Linked DNA regions of Homo sapiens: region 1 is linked to region 2. The links are contacts of gene promoters, found by promoter capture Hi-C in blood cells and fetal thymus (Javierre and others, 2016). All regions are on one chromosome and are shown on one strand. The core of a region is centred on a gene start or on the middle of the fragment in contact, and the rest is flanking DNA. Distances in the headings are between cores, read along the strand shown. Region 1 overlaps PDE11A (phosphodiesterase 11A). Region 2 holds the start of HNRNPA3 (heterogeneous nuclear ribonucleoprotein A3).

Region 1 (2,700 bases), core at 170-2,669, 510 kb after region 2:
ACACGCTACCTCCACATTAAGATTTAAGAAGCCCCCAGTAAATGTCAGGGGGTGTCAATGTGTTTGCTGTGATACTTGGTTATTATTAGTGTTTAACTGCAATTCCCCACCAGCGCCACGCTGCCTGCACCACCATAAATTTTAATGTGATCATGTGCTCTTCTCTTTTCATATCCAGTGAATTCTGCAAGATCATAATATTCTATATGAACCCTAGCTGAACCTTAGTGTGATATGAAGAAAGAACAAGATTTCAAGCAATAATAGTTGTTCACCATTTTATAGCTTTTTTTAACTGGACACTGAGCAACATGGTTCCTTGAATAATATTACCCTAAACTAAATTCACTCATTCAATTAATCTTTATTGATACCCTACAGGATGCAGGGCATGGCTCAAAGTGCTAATGAGTACATTTATGGGATAGTAAAGAATACTGACTCTTAAAGAAATCTTTTTTTTTCCCCTTGGAAAATCTGTCAGAGCTCATACATCATTTATAAAACCGAAAAAAATGTCTCTGCAACCTTGGCACCACTACATGCCTTTTATTTTACAGAATACAAACAAAAGCAGAGTCATTTCCGATATCTAGTCTACATCGTGAATATAAGAAATATGTCCCTCATCTTTTATCATGTATTTATAGTTATAATTTATTTATTATGTATGTGCATGATGGAATATTTGTTCTATAAACTTCTATTAGTAAAGAAAATTTATATGATGATCATTCATCTGCAGGTTTTCTTCCTCATTTTAACCACAAATAATAACTGTCACTACCTACTGTATTTGTCAGAGGAATTCAAAGTATTTGGGAAATTTTAACTATCTAAATATCTTTTTAAAAACAAAGAATAACATTGAAGCTTTCAAATTTATAAATGTGAAATTTCAGACCAGAGGCATGGAACAAATTAATAAGTCATTAACAGGGTTCCCAGTGAATAAAATGTTCATCATTTTATATCAATTTGCCTGTCCTACACAGTAGTTCTTTTTTTTTTTAATTTCTAAAGGAACAAAACCGCTTTGTTACCTACACATGAACCTGAATACTTTTGCAAAACACAATGCTGAGTCAATAAGTTTATTTTCCACCCGTGAAGTGATTTTAGGGTTAAAGGTTAGGAAGCTGGGGCATATATTTATAATTTGCTTGTCCTGTTGTACGTGGTGCCAAAATTTGTTCAGCAGTGACACACAACTATGCATTTCCCCATTCCCAGAGACAATAGGCTTGGAAAAATACACAATCACAGATTTAAGGTCACACGGAGAACACTATTATTCACTTTAACAGCACGGTATGCAAGGTGGCAGTCATAAAACAGGCCCATCCTGATGGGAGATGCTCTTTTCCGACAGACTGGTTTTGTTGCTATCTCTTTTAGGAAAAACATTTATTTTGTGGTGGGGTGTGTACCTCAGTATTCCCTGTGCTAGAAGAAAAGAAGCACTTTCAAGGAAGGTGGGTAAGGTTTTTTCCCCCTTTTCTGGAAACCAGCTGAGAAACTTTGCCTTGGAGCGCCATCTAGAGGAAGCCTCAGCACACACACGCTGTGCTTTCTTAGCCTTATGACATGACCCAGGTTGAATCCAATGGTTGGTACATGGTGAGTTTCTTTTCTTTTCTTTCTTTTTTCCCCCCAGATTAATAGAGAATTTTGGTTCTAACACAACCCACAGACAGGAAATATGAGATCACTGGAATGGAATTTTAATCACTGATAAGATCAAAACATTGAAAGGCTTTTAGAATCTTCAGGAGTGCCAAAAGCATGAGTGCCCATTGGTGGTAAGAAATAGGGCATCATTTTACCATAGGCCGAGTCACATTCCAGAGATGAGAATTGATGAGCGAGTTAAATTTATTTTTAGCTACACTGATTGAGTCGTCTTTGTTACTTCTGTAATTATTTTCTTAATTAAAAAATTCTGATTAACCAGATTGACCAGAGTCAAGCTTGGAGAAGATACTTACGTTAGAGAGAAACAAATGTTGACACTTTTAACTGACTGTAACCCTTAGTTAAGTTCAACAAAATTTAATGAGCAGAAAATACTATCTTTTCCAGATGTGGCTACTCAATACAATGTGAAGGAGAACAAAATAACGTTGTATTCTTTCTGAAGTCATGTTTTTGTTTTGTGATCTCCTCCACCCACCCTCCTTAGAGAAATTTGACAATGAAGTCTCCTCTTTCTGTGTTAGCATGAATGCAAAAAAACAAAACCTAAGCCTTCTCCAACAATGCTGCTCTTCAAGATTGCTGAGCATACTTGCAAAAACAACTGTACCCTGGAAATATTCTGACGATATGAGCATCCCCATTGTGGTGACATAGTTTAAGAATTCTATTCTCTTCAATTTCTTGGAAAGGATCAAAATTGCCCATATAATGGAAATACCCACTGCAGAAAACTGGATATATATTTCCTTTTGCTCCTAAGTGTCCACTGTGACCCTGCTGCTCTTGCCAGTTTCCCCTATTCCAACTATTTTAAGGTTTGTTATAAAAATCTGTCTCTGTCCTTGACATTTCTAACTCAAAAATGTCACAGCCATTTCTTTTTCCTTCATTGAACAGGGTTCCTACTTACTTATTTTGGCAATTCGCATAAATCCATAGGTTTTCCCAAATAATGGGTTAAAAAGTTTTTTATTGAATGTCCTCTGTGGGCCAGACATATGA
Region 2 (2,700 bases), core at 93-2,592:
CCCACAAAAATACCCTTTGTAAATGTTTCCAAACTATAACACAGGTCCTCCTGGAGCAACGGCTAGATAAATTAACAAACTTTTAGACTTTACGCTCCCCTTTTCCAAACTCCAAGTCGACCACTCCCCATTTGTTAACAGAAACTTACTATAACTGATTAGATTTCTAACCTTTCCTAGGGAGAGCCAGTTCAATTCTAAAAGGGTTGGTCACATGGGTTGCTAAATTAAAATATAAAGCATTTCCTAACAGGGAAGGGAGGCTGGTCAATTGTGGTTATTTTTATCAGTAACTTTAAATATGGATCCATAGATTATCAATTTATGGCTGTCGTGGGTGTTAGAAGATGACCTAATCCCATCCCCATTTTCATTTAAAAAACTGAAACTAAAGCTCTGTAAAATCAAATGATTTAAAATCATCTGACTAGGCCGAGAAAGGATTAGCTCTCTAGAGCATTACGGTAACAATCATTCGCAAACAGGTAGCATTATCTGGCGACCCTGCTTTTCTGGAAATCTTGTCAATTATTCAGTTCCTTAAATTCCGTCAGCTACAACAGATGCATCAGCTCTTTCCACACTAACTTGAAAGAAGCACATTAGAAAATAGTCCTGACTTGTTTCTTGAGATCAGTAACTAATGAACTGACCTCCACCAGTCCTGCCTCAGGTCGTTAATGGTAAAAATTCTGTATGTCAGCCGCGTTTTGAGGCCTGTCCAAGGTGCTTGTGAGTCCCACATGTTGGAGTCGCAGGGCTTTTCAGTACATGCCCTCAGGCAGGCGGCGCAGTCACAGACACTGGTCCCCGGCATTTGGAAACAGGAAAGATGGTCCGAGGGGCCGAGGAGTTTTTCTTGCAACCTTTAAATTACAAGCAAGAAAAACGTGGGTTTTATTTCGGGCACAGGAATAGAATGAATTCTGAAATGGAGAACTAGAGGCCTGCGTGGGGAATGAGGGACAAGCGCGAGAAGAAAGGGAAAGGCCTTTCTCTCTGGTGACGCGCGATCACAAGGCGTTCCCTCTACGTGGACGCTCACCATTGGCGGAGACCGCACTGACGTCCCGGAACTCGCCCTGACGCGAACGGCGGCAAAGGCCCTCTTCCCCTGAAAGCTGGCGAGGCGCGCGCGCTCCCGCGGCACGCCGCGCCTCCGCCCTCCGCCCGCCAACCCGCTGGTCCAGTCCCTCTTCGCGCCCGCTTGGCTCCGCCCCCTTCCCAATTCGCTCCTCCCCCAACAGACTGGCGGCGCGCGGAAAACGCGTCACGTGACGACTGGCCCCGCCTCTTCCTCTCGGTCCCATATTGAACTCGAGTTGGAAGAGGCGAGTCCGGTCTCAAAATGGAGGTAAAACCGCCGCCCGGTCGCCCCCAGCCCGACTCCGGCCGTCGCCGTCGCCGCCGGGGGGAGGAGGTATTAGGGGGAGAGCGGGGGGTTGGTGGGGAATGGCCGGCGTTGGGGGCCTGGTTCGGTGGGAGCGGGGAGGCCGGGTGGACCGGGTCGGCCGTCCCGCGCTCTTGCGTTGAGACAGGCTGTGGGAGGGGGAGGGGAGCGAGAGTTGGAGACCTCCTTGGGGCCCCTCGCCCGCCTCGCCTTCACCTTCGGCTGCACAGGCGGCCCCTTGGAGGCGCGGCTTGGTCGGGGAGGCCTCGGGAGGGAAGCCGGCCTGCCGGCTGCGCGGCCTCCGAAGCGAGGCCGAGGGCGGCATGGCGGGCCCCGGCGGGAGCGGTTGGGAGGAGGTGGTGGGGGAGGGGAGGGGACGAGCAGGCACATCCGGGCGAGCGAGCAAGCGGGCGGCGGCCACATTGACATTGATCCGCCGCCGCGTTACGAAATGGCGCATTGGCCCGCAATGGCCGCCGCCTCGCTCTGCCGCCGGGAAAGCGAGCCTGGGATTGGAGGGAAGAGGGCGGAGGCGGCCCGGCAGAAAAAGCCGCAAATGGCCTCGAAGCATGGGGAGGTAGTGCTTTCGCTGAAGTTCTGCCGACGCTTTTCTAGGCCTTTTACGGGTCCTCTCCGCGAGAAGTCGATAATTGGCCTTTTCTTTTTTTCGCAGCATCCTGTTGGAAATACGAGATTGTTAAAAACTTTGCTGCTTTAAAATACTTCCTGATATATTTTTGCTAAAGTACTTACATTACACTTCTTAAACCGCCATGTGGGCGAAGGACTTAATTTTTGAGAATTTGAGTGTAGATGTGAAAAACAACCCAGCCAGCTCCTTCCCGGCTCCGGCCGCTGAGGAGGGTGGGTGGAGAAGAATTTGAGTATAGTATGTTAAGGAAGAATTTAGAAATGTTTTTTATCTTCATGTTTTCCCATTCTTTGAGTCGGCTCTGGTTGTAGTTTCCTGGAATTTTATTTAGAGGACTGCAACCAGAGTTGAAATTTTCACGTTTTTGCAGTACATTTAATGTGGATCCTAAATATTTTTGTCGATTTCGTTATTGTCAATCGAATACATTTATCCAAGACTTGAAAAGATGAGATTACATGAATTAATGCTTTAGGCTATTAACGTTTTTTTCTAGCATGTGACAATCTCTTCACATTAAACGGTTTAACATCTCTACCTCTAGGAGACACAGGAAGACATTAGAATGTAAATGTGAGCCCCTTATTTAAGAACTTCGGGTGAAGGAAACCTTAATGCATGCATTAAATGACAGTTCATGCAATGTGTTAAAAAGTCT

What was found. Contacts are between HindIII fragments. The CHiCAGO score rates a contact against its expected background, and 5 or more counts as called.
Region 1: a contact is called between a fragment that was not itself captured here and the fragment with the promoter of HNRNPA3 in region 2, in 1 of 17 cell types (fetal thymus). The highest score is 5.4, in fetal thymus.

The regions. Positions count from the first base shown.
Region 1 is chr2:177,723,322-177,726,021 of GRCh38, forward strand. All of the region lies in intron 12 of PDE11A (phosphodiesterase 11A), which reads right to left. Among named protein-coding and RNA genes, the nearest start is that of PDE11A-AS1, 51 kb to the left of the region's middle. The HindIII fragment of the contact is 1,097 bases long and covers 872-1,968 here.
Region 2 is chr2:177,211,452-177,214,151 of GRCh38, forward strand. It overlaps HNRNPA3 (heterogeneous nuclear ribonucleoprotein A3), which reads left to right and starts at 1,343. Exons shown (of 11, transcript NM_194247.4): 1 at 1,343-1,420. The coding sequence starts at 1,349. MIR4444-1 (microRNA 4444-1) reads left to right here and starts at 1,275; the gene lies at 1,275-1,348. LOC105373759 (a long non-coding RNA gene) reads right to left here and starts at 960. Exons shown (of 1, transcript NR_157853.1): 1 at 1-960. RefSeq lists a silencer at 981-1,770 and an enhancer at 1,310-1,981. The HindIII fragment of the contact is 9,993 bases long and covers 1-2,700 here.